2 separate regions of the Homo sapiens genome follow, and region 1 is linked to region 2. Evidence: promoter capture Hi-C in human tissues and cell types (Jung and others, 2019). All regions are on one chromosome and are shown on one strand. Each heading gives the region's core, a stretch centred on a gene start or on the middle of the fragment in contact. The rest is flanking DNA. Distances are from core to core; before and after follow the strand shown.

Region 1 (5,949 bases), core at 2,109-4,608, 690 kb before region 2:
TTCTGTTTCTAAGCAAATACACAACAGTACATAGCCAGTTTGCTATAGTTTCATGTTTTAAATTTTGTGTACATTTCATGTCACATGTTTCTTAATTTTTAGATGTTTACATATCTGAGCCTATGTTATCCTTGTACAAGTTTGATGGGAAAGCAACCAACACACTGATCTTTTATTCTTATTCAATTTTTCTTTCATAGGTAATTTCTGCACTAGTTTTATTTTACCTGAATTTGATCAGATGTTTTAAATGATCCAAATTCCTAGCACTAGAAAAAATCCAGGCTTTTGTAGTTTATGTTGTTGTTGAACGAGAAGAAGACCAGACAAGTAGACACACGTTCACTAATCATAGGGGTGACTTCCTTTCCAGTGTTCAGCAAGGGATGGGGTATAAGGCAATGCCAAACTTCAACCTGCCCATCAGGTGAAAGAGTGAAGAATGTTTAATGTAGAGTTGTTCTTGAAACTAGGCCAGATGATGTCACATACTGGCTTAATTTTTTCTATTGGATGCTTAATTATTTGAGGATTCTGCAGGAAAAGTCCGGGTTGAGTTGGCTTGTTCAATACTAAAATATTTTTCTCCTGCTAAAGCACACACATTCGCTCACAGCAGTGTATATGGAACTTATAGATGTTTATTTTTACCTCTTTTTTTCTTTTCCCTTCCTTTCTTACTCTCACTACCTAAGTTCAAGGTCTGTGGACTGTGTACTTGTGGAGGAGGAGCACCAGGAAGGGGAAGGGAGGGATTCCTGCTGGCAGGAACCATGGAGAGCACATCCCTACCTAACCCTGCAGAAAAGTAGCCACAGCTCAAGGAGGTCTCTCATGTAGATCTATAGAGTAGCCCGTGCAAAATAGCATCTTTCATCACAGAGTGACTGACTTTTAACAAAGCAATAAAGCTAAGCCTCTTTGGCCCATCTACCAGAATGAGGACACTGCGTTGTTAAGAAATCACTCAATTAAAATAATATTTGTCGAAATTGTACTTGACCTGTAATCAAGAGCGACATTTGACACCTTAGTGCAGCTTCTCAAATGTTACTTATTATGACTTGGAAGGGTAACAATAAACAAAAACAACACAACAAATAAATACAACAAGAGGCAAATCACACTTCCCTTTGGTTTCAGAATCTACAATGACTGCTTGAACATTTGCCTAGTTTAGGAATATGTCTTTGTCTCAGGATTTTAGGGGTGCAGAAAGGAATGAGAGTATATGGAGCCCACCTTTTCTGAACTAGCTTTCCCAGTAGCCTGGAAACAGAAGGATTTTCTTGCTTGGTAGAGAGTATTGAACCCTGTCCTTCTGTGTGTCCAGGCCAATGTCTGTCGAGAGCTTGACTCTCTGTGCTGGAACTAACCTTGTCCATCTTCCCATAGTTCAGTATTGTCTTCCTCAAAATAAAGGAAATTATCTCCAACTTCTTGAAACATGCAGAATTTTGAAATGGTTTTCTTTATAAAAACGATAATATCAGCATATTTTCTAAACTGCTTGTTAGAGGTATAGAGTTGTGCAGCTTAGATTTGGCTGTTGTGTCAGACCTCTGTGTTCCAGTCCTCCTGTGGAGTGGACCTGTGACATCAGAACACACAGAGGTGGGGACTGGAATATCTCAGAGTTTCCCCAGGGGCTCCAAAGGGCTGGAAGTGTGGGTCCCACCTCCTTCCATGAGGGGCAGAAGAAATGTGTTGAAAACCAGCGATGGACAGGTGATGCATCAGGCTCTCAAGTCTCATTTCTAGATTCCATCATCCACATCAATTTTTCATCTATTACTTTTACTCATTGTAGGCTTTTAATGAGATGTAGAGAAAAATACAAGCTGAAAAGAATCAACAACATTTTACTTCAAAAGATTAAAGACATAATTACCAGTGGTTGGTAGTACGTCTATGAGGAGCAGCGAAGGCATCGCTCATCTCGGGCTTTTGAGACGCGTGCCATTATCAAGCCTAACCGTGCAAACCAGAGATGCAGAGCTGACTTAAAAAGCTGCTGTTTTGTCCCAAGAAAATCCCTTAATACAGTATCTGTTTTTCATAGTAGTTTGGCTAAGCTTCTGACATTACCATGACTTGCTTGCCCATGTTTCTAAACCATACTGACTCAAGGAAAAGGAGTCTTTGGATAGAGATAACATGCAATTGAAAATCTGATGATATTTTGCATAGTCAGAAAGACTTTTCCTGCTTAGAAAATGTTTTCTGTATAACACAGATGTGTTTTTCAATGCCTTGGAATTTCCTCTTTAGAAAATATGTTGAGTCAACCGAATTTTTAAAGAAAATAATTATATCCTGAATTTAGCTCTGCTGAAAGAGCATGCAAAAGTTGCAATCATGTCCTTTGTAAATGTGTTTTAAAGTTTTCCCAGAGTTTATCACGTGAGGATGAAATGAAGGAGCTGGGGTCTCAGGGTTAATGTATACTTTGATTTGCAGAAGAATAAGAAAGTGTATACAGGTAAAAATAAAATACATATGTGCCAACATGTACATTATCACTAATCCTCAGAATTTAAAAACCTCTACTTTTTAATATTCAAAATCCTTATTGGTCCTTATTTGGAATATGTTTATCATTAAAAGATTCCTAGTAAAATAAAGATTGGAAGTGGGTAAATGTGTGAATATGGTAGAAAGGTCTCTTCATGTTTCCAGTTTCCAGGGAGGATTACAAACAAAGCCACTTTAAATGTTTTTTTCCAAAGTGACTATACCATTGGCATTTCTACCAGCAATAGAGGAGAGTTCTGTTTGGTCAGCATCTTTGCTGACACTTATGTAGCCAGTGCTTTTTTATTTTGATTATTCTAATAGAGGTGTAGTAGTATCTTATTGTGGTTTAATTTGAATTCCTGTAATAATTAAGAATATTCAGCATCTTTTCACGTTTATTTTCTATTCATATATCTTGGTGAAATGTCTTATCAAATATTTTGCCCAATTTTTATTGCTCTCTTTCTTCACTATTGAATTTTCAAAGTTTATTATATATTTTGAATGTTACTTATTGATTAAATATATGTTTTGCTAGTATTTTCTCATAGTGTTTGGCTTGTCTTTACATTTTCTTAACAGGGTCTTTCAAAAGGCAGGATTTCTTAATTTTGATTAATTATATTTGACCTTTTCTTTCAAGGACAGTGTTTTTATTCTTATATCTAAGAACTCTTTGCTGAACTTACGGTCATCAAGTTTACTTCTAGAAATTTTATATGTCAAAACCACAATGATATACCATCTCACGCCAGTCAGAATGGCGATTATTAAAAAGTCAAGAAACAATAGATGCCGGCAAGGCTGTGGAGGAATAGGAAGGCTTTTAAACTGTTGGTGGGAATGTAAATTAGTTTAACAATTTTGGAAAACAGTGTGGTGATTCCTCAAGGATCTAGAACCAGAATTATCATTTGACCCACCAATCCCATTCCTGGGTATATACCCAAAGGAATATAAATCATTCTACTATAAAGACACACGCACATGTATATTTACTGCAGCACTATTCACAATAGCAAAGACTTGGAACCAACCCGAATGCCCATCAGTGATAGACTGGATAAAGAAAATGTGGCACATATACACCATGGAATACTATTCAGCCACAAAAAGGAATGAGATCATGTCCTTTGTAGGGACATGGATAAACCTGGAAGCCATCATTCTCAGCAAACTAACACAGGAACAGAAAACCAAACACTGCATGTTCTCACTCATAAGTACGAGTCGAACAATGAGAACACATGGACACAGGGAGGGGAACAACACACACCAGGGCCTGTTGGGGGACGGGGAGCAAGGGGAGGAAACATACAGGACAAGTCAATAGGTACAGCAAACCACCATGGCACACGTGTACCTATGTAACAAACCTGCATGTTCTGCACATGTATCCTGGAACTTAAAGCAATTTTAAAAACAAACTTTATATGTTTTAATATTTAAGTCTATAATCTATTTTGAGTTAATTTTTCTATACAGTGCAAGATATGGGTCAAAGTGCAATTTTTATGCATACGAATATCCCAGCATCGATTACTACAAAGACTTTCCTTTCTCAATTGAATTGCCTTTGCAAAGCTTTGTAGAAAATCAATTGACAATATTTAGCAAGTCTATTTCTGGACTCTTTTCAGTTTCATTCATTCAGGTGTCTATCCTTCTGCTAATGCCACACTGACTTGACTACTGCAGCTTTACAGTGAGCCTTGAGCCAGGTAGCGTGAGCCCTCCAATTATGTTCTCCCTTTTTCAGTGTGGTTTGGGTTATTCTTTTGAATTTTTACTAAATTTTAGAAGCACTGTGTCAACTCTTATTTTAAAAATCACGTGTCATGTTGATTCAAATTGCATTAATTCTATAAATTAATTTGGGGAGAAATGACAATATCACTTGAGTCTTCCAGATCATGACTAGAGAACATCTTCATGTCTTTTTAGGTGGTCTTTAATCAATGTTTCTTTCATACTTTTTTTTAAATTTTTTGACATACAGGTCATTCACAGAGTTTGTTACATTTATACATCATAATTATTTTAGGTTTTTGGTGCTATTAAAATGGCAGTCTTGAAATTTCAATTTCAAATTGTTCATTGCTAGCACATTAACATGCAACTGATATTTATTTATTTATTTATTTATTTATTTATTAGAGATGGGGGGGTCTCACTCCATCACCTAGGCTGGAGTGCAGTGGCACAATCATAGCTCACTGCAGCCTCAAACATGGAGGCTCAAGCAATCCTCCCACCTCATAGCTGGGATCACAGGCACAAACTAACATGCCCAGCTAATTTTCTTTTTTCGTAGACACAGGGTCTTGCTATGTTGGGCAGGTTCATCTGAAACTCCTGGCTTCAAGGGATCCTCCTCCCTCCACCTCCCAAAGTGCTGGGATTACACATATTAGCCACCGCACCCGGCCTGATTTTTTTTTTCTTTTTTTTTTTTTTGAGACGGAGTCTCACTCCATCACCAGGCCGGAGTGCAGTGGCGCGATCTCGGCTCACTGCAACCTCCGCTTCCCAGGTTCAAGCAATTCTCCTGCCTCAGCCTCCTGAGTAGCTGAGATTACAGGCGCGTGCCACCATGCCCAGCTAATTTTTCTATTTTTAGTAGAGACGGGGTTTCACCATCTTGGTCAGGCTGGTCTCAATCTAGTGACCTCGTGATCCACCCACCTCGGCCTCCCAAAGTGCTGGGATTACAGGCATGAGCCACCATGCCCGGGCCCCGGCCTGGTTTTTAAACATTGTTTTGCTAATATCATGTTTCAGTTCTAGTAGCCTCCTATGGATTCATTTGTATTTTCTTACACAATTACACTATCTGTAAATAGAAACAGTTTTTTTTTGTTTTGTTTTGTTTTTTTTTTTTTTACAATCTATGTGCTTTCATTTCTTTTTTCTTGTTCCTTATTGAGCTACCTACAACGACCAATAAAAATAGTAACAGGGGACATCCTTTTCTTGTTCCTGATTTTAGAAAGAAAGCATTCAATCTTTTACTAATAAATGACTTCATTTGTAGGTATTTTGTGGGTTTTTTTTTTTAGTTGAGGACTTTTTATTGTATTGAATGAATAAACATTGAATTATTTCAGGGTTTTATTTGCATCTCAAAAGATGATCATATGCTTTTCCTTCTTTAGTCTGTTAATATGGTTTATTAGCATTGATTAATTTTTGAATATTAAACCACCCTTTCATTTTCAGAATAAACCACACATGGTGATGACGTGATGCCATTTTTACATGCTGCTGGTTTCGCTTTGCAAACATTTTTAGAATAATTCACATCCTTTCTCATCCAGTGCCATTGTCTTCTGCCTGAAATATTTGCAATGCCACATTAGTCATTTCCTCCAATCTTATCCCCACTTGAATCCACTTGAGTCCCGGCACCATCCATCCAAAGTAGAATATCAA
Region 2 (6,036 bases), core at 3,271-5,770:
TGGGCCAGGGCCTTCCTTCCTGGGACCCAGGAACTTCCATTTCAGTGCATTTTCTTCTCAAAGGTTGGACCTTGGTCCACGGTTGCAAGGAGAGCCCAGATCTAACCATCATCACAAATCTGGATGTATATGCTGACCCTAGAGTTGGTAACGCTACTGTAGAAAATGTCTTCTTTGGCCAGGTGTGGTGGCTCATGCCTGTAATTCTGGCACTTTGGGAGGCCGAGGCGAGTGGATCACCTGAGGTCAGGAGTTCGAGACCAGCCTATCCAACATGGCGAAACCCTGTCTCTACTAAAAAATACAAGAAAAATTGCTGGGCATGGTGGCGCACGCCTATAATCCCAGCTACTCGGGAGGCTGAGGCAGGAGAATCACTTGAACCTGGGAGACAGAGGTTGCAGTGAGCTGAGATCACACCACGGCACTCCAGCCTGGGTGACAGAGCGAGATTCCATCTCGAAAAAAAAAGAAAAAAAAATGCCTTGTTTATTTTTTTCTTTTTGGTTTTGGTTTTTCTTCAGCCCTTCCAGATTCTGTCCCAACCCCCAACTATAGAAATGGAGACAGTCAGGTGCCATGCTAGCTCCATGGAAAACTCAAGCCCTTTCCTCCTGAGTCAGTCAACAGACTGTGGAGTCAGGGCCAGTGGGGCAGGGCCTTCCCACAGGGGAAAATCCAGCAAAGCTTCATGCAGGAGGGTCGAGTTTCCCCGTGTGCTCCTCTGTGATTTCTAACCTTCCATGATGCGCCCATATTATTTTTAGTATGAAACATTTCAGACACATAAAAATATAGAGACTAACATAGAGGACACCCACATAACCATCAACATCATCAGCTAAAGAAATGAAACCTTCAGAACCAGCTGAGGCCCCTCTGATGCCTTCCCCAAACCCCTCCCGCCTGCTCCAGAGCAAGCGTCAGTCCTGAATTAGAAGTTTATTTTCCCCATGTATGAGCAGCATGTGTCTTCAAAATCAGGTATTTTTTAAAAGAAAAGAAAATCGATTTTGCCCTCTACAGATTTAAGCTGCTGTTCTCAGACTTTGGGACCCTCCCGGACCAGGAGCATTTCCAAAGAAATTTGTGTAATGGTGAGACTCTCCATTGTGCAGAGTAAGAACACGAAGGAAAAGAAACACCAAAAAAAAAAAAAAACTCCTGTGATTCCAGTAGCTTCCTAAGAGAAAGGAATTCAGTGGTGAAAATGCACCATATCCTCAGAATTTAAAAAGTGAACGCAAAGCCTTTATTTTTCTTTTGTTATTTTATTTTATTTTCCTACACAGACCCTGGAAAACCTCTTCTTGACCAGCTCAGCACTGAGGACTCATCACTTCAGAAATCAGACCTCTGTGATCCGCGTGCCTAAGAGGATGGGGCTTTCCTGGAGGACCTCCGGGCAGAGCCAGGATGGGCATAGACTTTGCCGCAGGCCTCCTGCTCAGTCAGGTGAGCAGGCAGGTCTCAGGCTGCCTCTGCTCTGTTACCCTCTCACCTCCTTATCTTCTCTCTTCCACCCGCTCTGCAGCCCTTCCTGTTCAGAGCCCTGAGGGAGGAGGCTGGGGTGTCCACCTCTCCTCTCCCTAGCCCCAGGTGCTCCCTGCCCACAGCCCAGGCAGAGGAGGGAAGGTCTGACCCCAGCCCTGAGGCTGGAAGGGCCTGGAGGGCACTGGCCAGGCTCTGAGCACCGGGCAAGAAGGAACAGGTCGCAATGAGTGACCGCAAGAGATCATGGTGACTCCTGAAAACGCCCAGGCCCCGCCTCAGTGCCCCGGGCTACCCCTGGCCCCCCAGGCTTTGTGCTGAAGCCGAGATAAAGTGGACAGGCGCACCTCACTCCTCCACAGGTGTGCCCCACCCCCCCACCCGCAGGTCTGCCCGAGAGCACGGCAGGTGGGAAAGAGACGAATCCTGACTCCAAGGCCAGGGCCGCCACCTCCCCAAAGCCCGATTTCACCCAATGCTACCATAAGTTGGCCTGGGCTGCTCCTGTACCCACCTGGGGCTTCAGTTTCCACATCTGCCAAGCAAGGTGCCTGGGTCCGACCATCTGAGACCCAGGACAAAGGGAGCCCTGGGAACGCCAGGCTGTGATGAGCGAGCCTGGGTCTCGTTTCTAAACCTCACGGCACCAACACAACCCAAGTCCATACAGGGCTGTGCCCTGTCAGGGTGGAGGGCCCTGCCTGCTCAGCCCCGTCCTTCTCCCCCTTGCTCTGCCCTTTCCCCACCTCCCCCAACCCTAACCACACAGACGCACACACACACACACACAGAGACACACACAGACACAGACGCACAGATGCACACACAGACACACACAGACTCACGGACACATAGACACAAAGACACACACACACAGACACAGAGACACATACATGCACACACAGACACACACAGACTCACGGATACAGACAGACACACACACATAGACAGTGACACACACACAGACACACACAAAGACACACAGACACACAGACACATACAGACACACATGGACACAGACATTCACGCAGACCCACAGATAGACACAGACAGACACACAGATACACAGACACAGACACAGACAGACACACACACACATAGACACACAGACACACGGATAGATAGACACACAGACAAAGACATACCTAGACACACACACACAGACACAGATATACAGACACACAGATACACACAGATACATACACAGGCACATACACGAACACACAGACATACCTAGACACACAGATACACACACAGAGCCACACACAGACACACATATACACATACACAGACACAGACACATATGCACAGACATAAACACATATACAGACACAGACACACACAACACACAGACACACAGACACACAGATAGGCACACAGACACACACAAACACATACACAGACACACACAGACACACACAGATAAACACACACAGACACATAGACACAGAGACACACACACACAGATAGGCACACAGACACACACAAACACATACACAGACACACACACAGACACAGACACACACAGATAAACACACACAGACACATAGACACAGAGACACACACACACAGATACACACACAAAGCCACACACAGACACAGACACACAGATAAGACACACACACAAATGGACACACACAGACACATAGACACAGAGACACACTCAGACACACACACAGATACACACATACACATGCAGATGCACACAAGGACACACAGACACACAAACATACAGAGACTTACACACAGATGCACACATACAGAGACACGCATACAGACACACAGACACACACACAGATGCACACACAGACGTACACGTATATTATTTGCAGCCGAAGAGAGGCAGGCTGCGTGCAGAGGCTGGCAGCTGGGCTCCGTCTGTCCATGCGAGGCGCCCGCTCCTGTTTGTGCGGGACACGTGCCCAGGTCCTCACCAGCAGCTCAGGCAGAACCTGGAGCCACAGACACCGCCCAGCACCATCCTCACACATCCTCTGCCCACCTGCCCTCTGCTCCGCGTCAGGGGAGGCAGGAGCTGCCCCTGGGGCCTGCTCCAGGCAGTTCTGCCACCGCAGGTGAGAGGGGTGGGCTGGAAGGAACCCTGGAAGCAGGTGGGGGCCCTCGGAGGCAGCCGCCCCACAAACACCAAGCACACATGGAACTCGGCAGTCCTTTATTTAGATCAATGCGGGGCTGAGGGGCCCTCATTCCACTGCAGGGCAAAGGGGGACCAGGCCCAAGGAGGCCTCCTTCTGCCCAAGGTCTGGAGGCAGAGAGGGGCTCGCAGGCGGCCCGAGGGCGCCGCATCCAGGCCCCGGAGCGCAAAGCCTTCCTCCCAGGGGGAGGCAGTTTCCCATCCACCGACCAGGTTTCCCCGGAGAGTCCCAGCACAAAAGCAGCAGCGGGCGGTGGCCCTGAAGGCTCAGAGCGCAGCCAGGGGGACACAGGCGGGGAGCCTCACTCCTGGGCGAGCATCCTCGCGAACTCCTCGTAGTTCACCCGCCCGTCCTGGTCCACGTCGGCCTCGCGGATCATGGCGTCCAGCTCCTCCTGCGGCAGCGGCTGCCCCAGCCCCGCCATGGCCCGCCTGAGCTCGTCCACGGTGATGTGGCCGTCGCCATCCTGGTCGAAGGCGCGGAAGGCGACCTGCAGGTCCTCCAGGCCGGCCCTGGCCTTCTTCGCCGCCGTCAGGAACTCCTGGAAGCTGATTTCGCCGTCGCCGTCGCTGTCAACCTCGGAGATGAGTTTCCTTAGCTGGGCCTCCGAGAGGTTCTTGCCCGTGGCCTTCAGCGCCGCGCCCAGCTCCTGGGCATTGATGGTGCCGTTTCCATCCGTGTCAACCGCGGAGAAAGCCTTTTTGTACTGGGCCTCCTCCTCAGGAGTCAGCTCACCGGCCATGCCTGCGTCTCCTGCACCTCGCGGAGCCTCCGAGCTGCTGCCCACCGGCCCTCAACCTGCTGCTCTCAGAGCTCGTGGTCCAGAGTGCAGGCAGCCGCAGGGATCCGGGCAGCGTCTGTCCCAGACAGTTCTGCCTTGGCATGGGAACCCCCTCCTTTTCTGCAATCGGAACAAAGGGAGGAGGGAGGCTCCCCACCCTCCAAATGCCCTGGGGTGAGAGCCTCCTCCCAGGGAGGGCCAGATCAGCTGCAGACAGGAAATGCAGGAATGGGAGTTGGGAGAGCTGTCAGGTGCCAGGTGGGAACTGCCATGGGGTCGGGGTATCGGATGGCTAGCCTGCCAACCCCGCCTGGCCTTGATAGCAACCACCTCCCTCCAGGAACATTCTGCCCAAGGGATAGTTTCCCCTGCAGCTGATTCTCGGAGATCCTGACCAAGCCAAGGGGTTCAAGACAGCTTCTGCAACTTCACAAAGACTGAGACTGGAGGGGGAGGTGGCTTGAAGAGGGCTCCCTCAAGGGCACAGCAGGCCCCAGTGTTTGGTGTTTCCGTACCCCTCTCTCCAGTGCTACTGCCTAGCTCTTGCCCTGAGGCTGGGGCTGGTGGAAGGGAAGTGGGTGGTAGTGTTGATTCTGCCAGGGCACAACTGTGGGTATCATGAGATTCCCAGGCCAGGGTCTAGAGACAGAGGATGGGGCTCACTGCCTATAACTTCAAGGAAGCAAGGGACCAGGGCTGCCTTCAGAGCCATAGCTGGTGCTGAGATGGTGTTTATCAAGTGAACATGTGACGTGCAGTTTCAGAGGAGAGGGAAAGACTTTTTGTCTCCCCAGAATACTCCCTTCTAGCTCAGGGATTCCTACAATTCAATTCCATCGCCAAGTCCAAGGTTCCCTGTGCAGACACCCTGGGAGCTCAGTGGCAGGCGTTCCATTCACAGGGCGTCAAACAGTTACAGCTGGAGTTTTGCTGCAGCGAGACACGGGGGACCTCAGTGCCCAGCATACCCCAAAGGTGCAGGCAGAGGTGCAGGAGGATGCAGAACAGGTGGCTGCCATCAAACTTGGCCCTCCTTGTGGTTTTACTAAGCATCAGCCCTAAGCACAGAGACCCATCTGGGAGCCTACTGGGGTCCTCAATCTGATCTGTTCTCTGGAAGGAAACCCCCAGGGCCACTTGCCTTGACCAACTTTTAGAGCAACAGCTAAGCTTTCGGGGGACCATCCCCAAGTCCTTCCACTGATGTGATCTACAGTTGTGAGGGGACATTTGCCTTGGAGTCCCCAAAATGCCTTTCCCAAGCAAGTCCCCTCTGATCTCCATAGATTCCCATTCTTCTCCCCAGCCCCTGCCCGTACACAGGGAACAAACTCCTTTATTCCCCTGGGAAAGTTTATACATTCCACCTCCCTCCTGTTCAGCCCATCAAATAGACCAAGTGCCCTCTCCTTCCCTAAAGTGCAGCCAGACAAACACCTCCCAGCCCCTTGGTGCTGCACACATTCTCCAAGGGAAGCCGGAGGCTGGGGTGCCCAACCACGCACTCCATGACCCACAGCTCAGTCCCCCAGGACCACACAAGGGGCAAACCAGGCAGAGCAGTGAGAGGAGGGAAGATGCCCCAGCCAGCCCTAGTGTGGCAGCTGC

What was found. The method cuts DNA at HindIII sites, captures the fragments that hold promoters and counts their contacts. A contact is called where the count stands out against the background at its distance.
Region 1: a fragment that was not itself captured here is called in contact with the fragment with the promoter of CALML5 in region 2 in 1 of the 25 tissues and cell types used here (liver).

Annotation. Positions count from the first base shown.
Region 1 is chr10:4,802,527-4,808,475 of GRCh38, forward strand. No RefSeq gene overlaps it. Among named protein-coding and RNA genes, the nearest start is that of AKR1E2, 21 kb to the right of the region's middle. The HindIII fragment of the contact is 6,184 bases long and covers 267-5,949 here.
Region 2 is chr10:5,495,050-5,501,085 of GRCh38, forward strand. CALML5 (calmodulin like 5) reads right to left here and starts at 4,521. Exons shown (of 1, transcript NM_017422.5): 1 at 3,648-4,521. The coding sequence starts at 4,389. The coding sequence ends at 3,949. The HindIII fragment of the contact is 7,245 bases long and covers 1-6,036 here.